2 separate regions of the Homo sapiens genome follow, and region 1 is linked to region 2. The links are contacts of gene promoters, found by promoter capture Hi-C in human tissues and cell types (Jung and others, 2019). All regions are on one chromosome and are shown on one strand. The core of a region is centred on a gene start or on the middle of the fragment in contact, and the rest is flanking DNA. Distances in the headings are between cores, read along the strand shown. Region 1 overlaps SMAGP (small cell adhesion glycoprotein). Region 2 holds the start of BIN2 (bridging integrator 2).

Region 1 (5,846 bases), core at 3,005-5,504, 78 kb before region 2:
CCTTTGAATGAGTGGTAGGCTCCCTTTCCTGTTTGTATCTTTGGGTTCACATAAAGTATAGACCTACTTTAGAACTCAAATTGGTGGCGGAACTAGCTCCTTAAAACGCAGCTGGTTAGCACATTGCCTCATCCTAACAGGCCTCTGCTTCCCCTATGTCCCCTTCGCTTATATTAGCTGCCCTGTGCCCATTCTATCATGTCATTTCCTTTCAGCCTCCACCTCCTGGATGCCCTCCCAATGCTGCTCAGCTTGCAGTCATGCAGGGAGCCAACGTCCTCGTAACTCAGCGGAAGGGGAACTTCTTCATGGGTGGTTCAGATGGTGGCTACACCATCTGGTGAGGAACCAAGGCCACCTCTGTGCCGGGAAAGACATCACATACCTTCAGCACTTCTCACAATGTAACTGCTTTAGTCATATTAACCTGAAGTTGCAGTTTAGACACATGTTGTTGGGGTGTCTTTCTGGTGCCCAAACTTTCAGGCACTTTTCAAATTTAATAAGGAACCATGTAATGGTAGCAGTACCTCCCTAAAGCATTTTGAGGTAGGGGAGGTATCCATTCATAAAATGAATGTGGGTGAAGCCGCCCTAAGGATTTTCCTTTAATTTCTCTGGAGTAATACTGTACCATACTGGTCTTTGCTTTTAGTAATAAAACATCAAATTAGGTTTGGAGGGAACTTTGATCTTCCTAAGAATTAAAGTTGCCAAATTATTCTGATTGGTCTTTAATCTCCTTTAAGTCTTTGATATATATTACTTGTTATAAATGGAACGCATTAGTTGTCTGCCTTTTCCTTTCCATCCCTTGCCCCACCCATCCCATCTCCAACCCTAGTCTTCCATTTCCTCCCGCCAGTCTCCATTGAATCAATGGTGCAGGACAGAAAGCCAGTCAGACTAATTTCCTTCTTTCCTCGCACTTCTCCCCACTCGTCATCTTTTAACTAGTGTTTCACAAGGATCCTCTGAAACCCTCTCTGTGCCCCAAGTACAGATGCCATTACTTCTGCTTTCGTATCTCCTCAGGCAAAAGTGGAGGGTGCCTTATGGGCCCTCCTCATAGGTTGTCTCTGCATACACGAACCTAACCCAAATTTGCTTTGGTGCCAGAAAAACTGAGCTATGTTTGAACAAAGATGTCGTGCAAACTGTACTGTGAACAACAGTTGGTTTAAAATATGAGGGGCAAGGAGGAGGATGCATTTCAAAAGCTTGATTGATGTGTTCAGAGCTAAATTAAGAGGAGTTTTCAGATCAAAAACTGGTTACCATTTTTTGTCAGAGTGTCTGATGCGGCCACTCATTCGGCTCCCCAGAATTCCTAGACTGGGTTAATAGGGTCATATTGTGAATGTCTCACTACAAAATGACTTGAGTCCAGTGAAATCTCATTAGGGTTTAAGAATATTTCAGGGATCCTTAATGTTTTGATTTTTGTTTTCTGAAATTGGATTTTATTTTATTTTATCTTATAATTTCAGTTCATCTAAATTGTGTGTTCTGTACATGTGATGTTTGACTGTACCATTGACTGTTATGGAAGTTCAGCGTTGTATGTCTCTCTCTACACTGTGGTGCACTTAACTTGTGGAATTTTTATACTAAAAATGTAGAATAAAGACTATTTTGAAGATTTGAATAAAGTGATGAAGTTGCATTACACCTCACTGCAAGGATTCTTTACTTAGCTTGTTTTTAGATTTCTTCTATATATATTTTATTTATATCCCATCTAGAATTCAGCTAGGTGCTGCTGCTGCTCTGTTTCCTTTGATGACGCTTTGAAATAAAGGCAGGAGTACAAGCCTAAGACTTGATCATTTCATGAATTCCATTCCAGATGTTCAACTTTTCATCATTTTACTCCAACCTCTTACAAATTTTGGAATTTCGGACCTAAACTTAGAAATGAGGGAACTATTGATTCTCCTAACTTGCTCTAAAGTTTGGCTTGAAGAAAAGGTTCTGGTATAGCAATTTGTATACGTTGAGGATGACCTTTAGTTTCTCCAATGTTCTATGTGGAGAAATACTGAAAACTCATAGAATCTAGGTTGCCAAGATAGATTCCTCAGCTCTTTTATTTATTTTTTGAGACAGGGTCTCCCTCTGTCACCCGGGCTGGAGTGCAGTGGCAGTGTCTGCTCACTGCAACCTCCACCTCCCGGGTTCAAGTGATTCTCCTGTCTCAGCCTCCTGAGTAGCTGGGATTACAGGCACCTGCTACAACACCTGGTTCATTTCTGTACTTTTAGTAGAGACGGCTTCACTGCGTTGGCCACGCTGGTCTCAAACTCCTGACCTCAAGTGATCTGTCTGCCTCAGCCTCCCAAAGTATTGGGATAACAGGCAGTGAGTCACTGCACCCAGCCAGATTCCTCAGCTCTTGATCTTAACTTGGTTGGGTTTGAGCTTGGACAACAGAGGCAATACATTAAGACTTCAAAGGAGATCTAGCTTTAATTCCAAAGTGAACAATATCTGATGAGCTAATAATTTATACCAAAATGTGCCTTTTAAACACAACTTATCTTGAGACTAAAATCCAAGAAGCTTCTTGGCTTGATTCTGAGGATACACTGGGAAAGGTGGTAGGTTGATTTTTTCTGGTTCCTTCTGTATATATGTAGAAGGGATTCTGGGAAATTCTGGCCCTTGCCAGGATGGAGGCTTGAACCAACTCATCTCCCAGGGTACTTTTTTTTTTTTTTTTTTTTTTGAGACGGAGTCTCACTCTGTTGCCCAGGCTGGAGTATAGTGGTGCAATCTCAGCTCACTGCAAGCTCCGCCTCCTGGGTTCAAGCCATTCTCCTGCCTCAGCCTCCCAAGCAGCTGGGACTATGGGCGCCCGCCACCACGCCCAGCTATTTTTTTTATATATTTTTAGTAGAGACGGGGTTTCACCGTGTTAGCCAGGATGGTCTCGATCTCCTAACCTTGTGATCCGCCTGCCTCGGCCTCCCAAAGTGCTGGGATCACAGGCGTGAGCCACCGAACCCGGCCCTCCCAGGGTATGTTTCTAATGATGTTCCCCTGGAACAAGCTTTCCTGCACCATCTTTGTCTCAAATCCCTGAGATAGTTCTGCAAACTTCTAGAACTTTCCTAGGGTTCTTATTGCTTGGAAGAGAACATATGTAAAGGCGTTAAATAGGGAAAAGAAAATGTCAAAAATGTTTAAGCAAAAATAAGTCAAAATGTAGTTACTTCTTGCACATGAGAATCTGATTTCTGTAGCAATGAAAATTTTTAATTTGAATAAAAATCACGTAAGCATGAGGTTGTTGGGGAACACGGAAAGGAAGGGCTCAGATTAGGGGGTGTAGCACATTTATCAGGAGGTAAGATCTCCATAGTCTCCTACCCCTCCTGGCCTGGCCTTTTACTGTGGTATCCAGCCTCTGGGAAGACCTTGTATGGACAGTATCTCCACTGGGGCTATCACTAGGTGACCAGGTAGGGGACAGAGTAGAGCAGCCAATGACCTTAACTCAAAATCTTTTCTCTCCCTTCAACCTGTGAAAAAAGATGACTGGGCACATACTCAGATGTCCCCTGGCATAGCCACATCTTGTTGGCCAGTCACAAACACCAGCTCTAGTAAGAGGGCCTGGTTAAAGATATCATAAACAGCTTTCTCCATGTCCCTGGTCCCTGGAGTCAGTGATGTCGGCATTTGGGACTGCGACCTGGCTGGAGCTTGGATTTGCCCACATCAATCAATGCTTCTCCCTGGCTTCAGAGAAAACTTTCCCATAATAAGCAGTCAACGTGTTAGCGATGGAGCCAGGAATAAGCTCCTTGGGGCCTGGGAGTCATTAGATGAAATATTCCTCTTTCTCGCTGCCCTTGGCCAAGTCACTCTCCATCTGGACGATGGCACTGGGCTCACCTTCTGTAGGTTCATAGGTGACGTAGCTGCCTTTGTTCTTGTACAGGTAAAAGAAGATCAAGATCACGACCGAGAGCAGGGTGAGGAAGACAACGGTGATAACAACTTGGAAAGGAGAGGGAAAATGTAGAGATGTTTCAGGATTGAGGATGTCTCAGTAGTTCCTGGAGTCATCTGATTTAGTCACTGTTTTCGTAAAGATCCTCTTGTTTTCATTAACTAGTGTCCACTTCCATCCAAACCCATGTTCCCCCACCAACCCCAATTTCCATGGCACATAATAGCTGGAGTCTCCTGGTGCTTAAGCTAAGGACACATGCTTTTGATTTCTGACAAAACTGAACTGCCTCCCAAACCAGTTCCTGATTCTTAAAGAAACGGGAAGGAGGGAACAGGAAATGGCTTATCCTAACAGGAAGTGGTTTATCTGATCCTCCCCCTCTTCCTCACCCACTCAACCAACCACATATATCCTCGTCCCTACCCACGTACTCAAGTGTAACGTCCGTATGCATATCTATTTGCGGCCACCTCCCAACCTGTCATTTACTGGTAGTGCCTCTGACAGAAGCCTCCGAGTCTTTTATGGCTGTGTGTGTGTGTGTGTGTGTGTGTGTGTGTGTGTAATATAACTTACAAGCCAGAGTGAGCCCATTAATGGATTTGGTCAGGCTCCCTCTGGAGAGAGATGCCCTTGATCCAGAAGGTCCCTTGGAGTTGGCTCAGAGTCTATTACCTGCAATGAGTGCTGTGCTGGCTCCATCTTCTGGGGACAGGGCCTCAGTGGGCTGTAAAATTGGGGTGGTCATCAGTTCTTCTGGAAAATGTAGAAAAGTGGAAAAGGAAATGGAGTGAATTCTTTTGTTTGAAAGCATATGTTTGGCCTTCAAATTTCACCACCCCACCTTCTTCCCTATTCAAAAGTTTATCATTTAACTCCTAGAGTATATCCAAATAGAAAATCCTAGAGAATAAAGAAGAAAATAAACCACCACCCAAAGACAATATGTTGATGGATTTCTCCCTGCATAATATAGTGATTAAGAGTAGGGGCTATAGAGCCTGACAGACTGGGTTTCAAATATGAACTCTGTCCTTTACTAGCTGTGTGACCTTGGGAAAATTACCTAACCTCTATCTGCAAAATGGAGGTAAGAGTACCTACTTTAAAACGTTGTTGTGACATTTAATAAGTCACTCAGTAGGATAAGCCATTATTAGGAATGCATATTTTTACAATAAGTGAGATCAAATGAGTTGTATGTGTATATATTTACATTATATTATATAGCATGTGCATTTTCTTGCAGCATTCTTACTAATTCTTTGTAAACATTATTTTAACATAATGAAATAGTGCTCCTCTCCTATTAAAAACCCTTTTCTACACTTCCAGGATAGGCCCTGCAATTTGAAAGGTTCTGAAACAGGCCTCTCCTCTACCCTAAAATAGATCCTGCACCCCCTCCTGCTACGGGTTTATTTATCCTTCAGAGCGTGAAAGTCCCACCCTAAAGTCATTACCCAGGGACAGAACATGACAAAATGAGTGGTCTCCAGAAGTCCCTTTTAAGTGTTTACACAGGAAGTCAGGAAGCCCTTCCATTCTTTCCTATTAGCATTTTAATGTAGAGGTTACTGCAGGATAGAGGTCTCCTGGGGAAAACCAGCTGGCTGATCCTGGCAACACCCACAGGAGGCACCCCGACCTGACTGGCATCCCATAAACAGCAACACTCACCCACTGCCTCCTCTTTGCTAGGCCCTGTGCTAGATGAAAGGTCGAGCAAAACAGACACGGCCAGCTTCCCGAGGCTCACCCTCCACTGCACCCCACAGCTTGCACGGTGAGGAGCTGCTGTAAGTGCACTTAGGAAAGTGTGCAGCCGAGGGGCCTGATCTAGTCTTCCAGCCAGAAGCGACCCCCCAAGGGAGGAATATCTGAC
Region 2 (5,226 bases), core at 274-2,773:
TCCTGCTCGCCCACACTGTTTCGAGCTAGACCTTCCCATAGGCCCTGCTCTCGGGTCTACCAGATTTGTAAGTCTTCAGAGAGGCTGAAACTAGGATCAAGGTGAAGTTAGGGTAAGTGAAGTAACGAAGTCTGGCTACACGAACTCTTTCCCTTTTCCTCCTCTCTTTCACATGACCTCAAATGATAGAAAATAACCTCCCTTCCATTGTGGTCTCTTAAAGTCAGGAGCTACATCTACATTCCATCAGTTTTCTGCTGATAAATCAACTCGGGAGAGCTGGTTGCCTTTAAGCCTTCCCAGGGCTCAAAGCAGTGCTCCACTTTTAGAAGATAATAGGGATATTTCAGTTGGTAAGCAGAGCTGTTCATCCAAATGCTTCTAAGTCCATCAGCTCTTAGAAAACCAAAACTTCTCCGTTGTAGAAGGCAGGTTGGGCTTAATAAAGAGAGAGAGAAAAAAAGGAAAACCGAAACTCTATCTCAGGTCCTTCTTGTCTTTCTTCCCTCGCTCTTTCTTCTGGCTGACATGTCTTCCCAAACCGCCTTGTCTACTAGAGGGTTGGTAGGTGGAGAGCAGAGGCTCAGGTTAGAAGCAAAGAAAATATTCTGTACAGGTAGAAACAAAAATGCCATCAAAATGTGTAGAGAATGTCCCCACAATTTAGATTGCCAAGCAAGTAATAGATGGGCAGCCCACCTAAGTGCCAGTGCTGGAGCAGGGCTACCTGACACTAACCAAGGACACACTCTGAACACAGATGTGGTTCATCACCCTGGGAGGTGTACTCCCCAACGCCAAAGGGAGGGTAGAAGAAGCAGATTTGGGCTCCTGCTTACGTCAGCTGAAACACCACCCAGAGGCCAGGCAGGGTCAGGTAGGGGGAGAACTATGCAGGATTATTCTAAGCCTTTGGTGGGGGGTGCCTGCTGGCATCCGCTGCATCGCTGTTTTTGGGGAAATTGCCCTCTATGGAAAATTACCCTCCAATTTCATCATCTGTAAAATACCAATTTTGGATTGCTAGCACAAAATTTGATACAAAGGTGGCCACCACCATCACTTCCTTTCTTTCACCTTTTCTGGGTCAGCCTGAGGGTTGTCGAAGGTTCTGCCCAGAGACTGTTGTCTCCCCAGCTTCCCTTATCCTTGCCCAAGATCGGGTGGCGGTCTCCGACCTCTCTCCAATCTGCCAGTTTTCATGGAAGCCCACTCCTCGCTCCCGTTTCCCTGGGAGAGCGGGAGACCCTTCTCGTCAGCCCAGACCCTTCGGGGCCCCTGAGCACCCTGCCCGCCCCTCCTGCCCGGCCGGGCTCGGCCTCGGCCTCGGCTCCCTGTGGGCCAGACAGACAGCGAGGCCCGGCCACCTACCTTCTCCTGGGCCCTGCTAAACTTCTTCTGCACCTGCTTGGCGAAGAGGCCGGCCGCGCCGCCTGCCTTGCCCTCTGCCATCCTGCCAACTCCCTGGGGGCCGCCGCCCTGGCCCCGCGCCCTGTGGTTTTCTGAGGCCCCCGAGGAGGAAGTGCGGGCTCCCGGCATGCCTCGCATCCGGCCCCAGCCCTGAGCCACCTCAGGCCGCCCCTGGCCAGCCCTGAGGCCCGCCCCTCAGCCCACCACTGTCAGCTGGAGCAGGCCGGCTCGGAGGGGCGGGCCCGGGGCCTACCCTCAGGCAGCGCTCGCTCGAGGCCAGCTTCCGAGCTCCAACCCCTGCCCGAAACCTCGGCCTCACTGAACCAGGTCCTCAGTGGTGGGCCCACACTCACTCGCTCCGGAAAGCCAGTTCCCATCACGCTGAGCACTGCAAAGCAACTGCCACCGCAGGGTAGAAAATGATGTGGGTTCCACTCAGCGAGAGGACCTACCATATCGAAAACACGTTTAGGTTCTCTGAGTATGCATGCGAAGCCGCCATGTACACTGCGTTTCTTGCTCCAGGTAGGCTCTAAGCCTGGAACTGGTAGGGATAGAGTGCAGAAAGCAGGCAGGACACCCGAGCCGGGCTTGAAAGAGAGAAACAGGCCGGGCGCGGTGGCTCACGCCTGTAATCCTAGCACTTTGGGAGGCCGAGGCGGGTGGATCGCCTGAGGTTAGGAGATCAGCCTGACCAATACGGTGAAACCGCGTCGCTACTAAAAATACAAAAATTAGCTGGGTGTGGTGGCGCACGCCTGCAGTCCCAGCTACTCGAGAGGATGACGCAGGAGAATTGTTTGAACCCGGGAGGCAGAGGTTGCAGTGAGCCGAAATCGCGCCACTGCATTCCAGCCTGGGCGACAGAGCGACAGTTCGTCTCAAATAAATAAATAAATAAATAAATAAATAAATAAATAAATGAGGAACAACTAAGCTGGAGATAGAAACAGGGTAGGGGGCTGGTTCTTAGGCAAGAGAATGATCACATTGAAAAAAGGCTGAGGAGGATAGTATGGACGCCCGTGCTGAGCATGAGGAGCAAGTTTTTCTAGTTGGAGTACAGTGTACTGGATGGAGGCAGAATGTGAACACAGACACAGATTGTGCAAATTGGGGTGCGGCTGTTGAGATGACAACTATTGTTTCTTTAGGGAGAAGTTCTCCAAAAAATTCCTCCCTGACCTGTTTGAGGGGATAGCTTGAGATTAGGACACTAGGTGTGGAGGAACCACGTACTCAGATTTTACAGTGCAGGTTAAAATTTCCTCAAGGCAGGGAAGAAGGTCAAAATAACACTTCCTAAGGAGTGGAGGGGGAAGATAGGGCCTGACACAAAATTAGAGGCCCTTGTATGCTACTGTGTTCCTCTTCTTTCTCCAAAACAATCATTACTGCACTCAAGGTCAACTGTGTACCAGGCATTGCTGGGTGTTCTGAAACAAGGATGAATAAAATGCAGTCCCTGACCTTAAGATGCTTAATGAAGTCTGGCCGGGCACCACGGCTCACACCTGTAATCCCAACACTTTAGGAGGCTGAGGCAGGCAGATTGCTTGAGCCCAGGAGTTTGAGACTAGCCTGCGCAACATAGCAAGACCTTCTCTCTGCTAAAAATACAAAAATTAATTGGGCGTGGTGGCACACACCTGTAGTCCCAGCTATCAGGGAGGCTGAGGTGGGAGGATCACCCGAGCCAAGGGAGGTGGAGGCTGCAGTGAGCCCTGATGGTGCCACTGCATTCCAGCCTGGGCAAAGCGTGAGGCCCTTTCTCAACCAATAAAGAATAAGTATTAATAAATAAGTACATAAATAAAGATGCTTAAAGTCTGGAAGTGGAGATAGGTGGGTAATCAGGTGATTCTAATGTAATGTGCTTAATTTATTTGTAGAGATGGATACAAAATTTTCTGGGAATAGGTGATTAGGGTTTGTTTGTTTGTTTGTTTGTTTGGAGACAGGGTCTTGCTTTGTTGCCAGGCTGGAGTGCAGCAGTGCCATCAGGGCTCACTGCAGCCTCTACCTCCCAGGCCCAAGTGATGGTCTCACCTCAGCCTCCTGAGTAGCTGGGACTAAGGTGCGTGCATGCCACCACTCCTGGCTACCCAGGCTGATCTGGAACTCTTGAGCTCAAGCAATCCACCCGCCTCAGCCTCCCAAAGGGCTGGGATTACAGGTGTGAACCACCTTGCCCTGCCAGGCGATTAGGGTTTATTCTGGATGTTAGCTTTGGTGATGCCCTGGAAGAGGCAGGGTGATGAAAATAGAAGGACTTGATATTGGATGGGGAGAAGTGGGGAGAAGCATGGAGAATAGCAGTACTGCGGGAACACTGAGAGTAGATGGCAATGCTAACAGGTGTGTCACTGGCAGAAGGAGGCCAGTACCTGTGTCCCTGCCAGGACTACATGGCATCCTCAGCAATGCAACCCAGCCACTGTCTCCTAAGAAACTCTGTTTAGTGCCAATATCTTGCAAACTGAAATTGATGGTCACCAAATCATGTAGTGTTAGAGAAGAAACAACCCTTAGAAGTTAATTAGATAGGGAAATTGAGTCACAGAAAGGGCTGATGACTTGACCACAGCCACCCAGCTCCTCAGTGGTGGAACTGGGATGGGAACAGACTCAGCCTCTTATAGCACATGGAGTGTTCTAGAGGCCTCTGCTGAGCCTGTCAATTCCAGGGTCTGTCTCAGCCAGTTTCTCCTTCTGTAATGTTTAATACCCTAGTCCCTCTTGTCTGGTCTTAAGTGATTGACATGAAAAGCTGCTTCTCATCCTTTTTAGCCTTCCCCTTTCAGTTCCCCCTTTGCTTTCTCATAGGCCACTCTAACAGACTGAGCCCTGGCCAGGATACAGCAGAATTATCAGTTTCCCAGTTCTCTGTGGTTTATAGAACCCTGGATCCGGTTGCCTAATTTTAGTCCCAGCCTTAAAGTGCTGATTCACACTTAGCTTGAGGCCCTATGTTGTTGTTGCCTCTTCCTTTCTGTTCTGCCTCTTCCCCTCAACCCTTTCGTTTCTTTGTTTAGTATCTTCTCTTCTCTCCTTTTTTCTATTCTTAGCTCTCCAGTCTCCATTGTTGTTTTTTTTTTTTTTTGAGACAGAATCTCACTTCATTGCCCAGGCTGGAATGCAGTGGCGCAATCTTGGCTCACTGCGGCCTCCACCTCCCAGGCCCAAGCGATTTTCTCCAGTCTCCTTTCTAATTTGTCACTTTCTTAGTCTGCTGGTATCTGCCCTGCCTCCTAATCTTATACTTCTATCTCTGGTGTATCCTAGTAGTTGCCATCACCCAGAAACTTGGAGTGGGCGTTCGTTTTAGGCACTAAAGGGGGAAACAAAAGAAGGATGAACCCACAGTATACCTGGGAAAGACAGGGCACATTCAGTCACTCAGGAAGTTTTTTGTTTGTTTGTTTTGAGACGGAGTCTTGCTTTGTTGCCCAGGCTAGAGTGCAGTGGCACGATCTCAGCTCACTGCAACCTCCACCTCCTGGGTTCAAGTAGTTTTCCTGCCTCAGCCTCTTGAGTAGCTGGGATTCCAGGCGCCTGCCACTGTGCCCAGCTAATTTTTGTATTTTTAGTAGACACGAGGATTCACCATCTTGGCCAGGCTAGTCTCGAATTCCTGACCTCGTTATCCACCCACCTCGGCCTCCCAAAGTGCTGGGATTACAGGCGTGAGCCACCGTACCCAGCCCACTCGGGAACCTTTTTTTTTTTTTTTTTTTTTTGAGATGGTCTTTCGCTCTTGTTGCCCAGGATGGAGTGCAACGGTGCAATCTTGGCTCATTGCAACCTCCACCTCCC

The links. Contacts are between HindIII fragments. The study calls those that stand out against the background at their distance.
Region 1: a fragment that was not itself captured here is called in contact with the fragment with the promoter of BIN2 in region 2 in 6 of the 25 tissues and cell types used here (aorta, hippocampus, lymphoblastoid cells and 3 more).

The regions. Positions count from the first base shown.
Region 1 is chr12:51,242,115-51,247,960 of GRCh38, forward strand. It overlaps SMAGP (small cell adhesion glycoprotein), which reads right to left. Exons shown (of 4, transcript NM_001031628.2): 3 at 4,637-4,717; 4 at 2,444-4,005. The coding sequence ends at 3,827. It overlaps DAZAP2 (DAZ associated protein 2), which reads left to right. Exons shown (of 4, transcript NM_014764.4): 4 at 216-1,819. The coding sequence ends at 344. Among named protein-coding and RNA genes, the nearest start is that of DAZAP2, 6.2 kb to the left of the region's middle. RefSeq lists enhancers at 5,335-5,836, 5,837-5,846. The HindIII fragment of the contact is 4,727 bases long and covers 1,892-5,846 here.
Region 2 is chr12:51,322,651-51,327,876 of GRCh38, forward strand. It overlaps BIN2 (bridging integrator 2), which reads right to left and starts at 1,524. Exons shown (of 13, transcript NM_016293.4): 1 at 1,372-1,524. The coding sequence starts at 1,452. It overlaps LOC105369767 (a long non-coding RNA gene), which reads right to left and starts at 1,358. Exons shown (of 2, transcript XR_944957.3): 1 at 1,078-1,358; 2 at 1-553. RefSeq lists an enhancer at 1,050-1,239 and silencers at 1,270-1,759, 4,455-4,749. The HindIII fragment of the contact is 13,760 bases long and covers 1-5,226 here.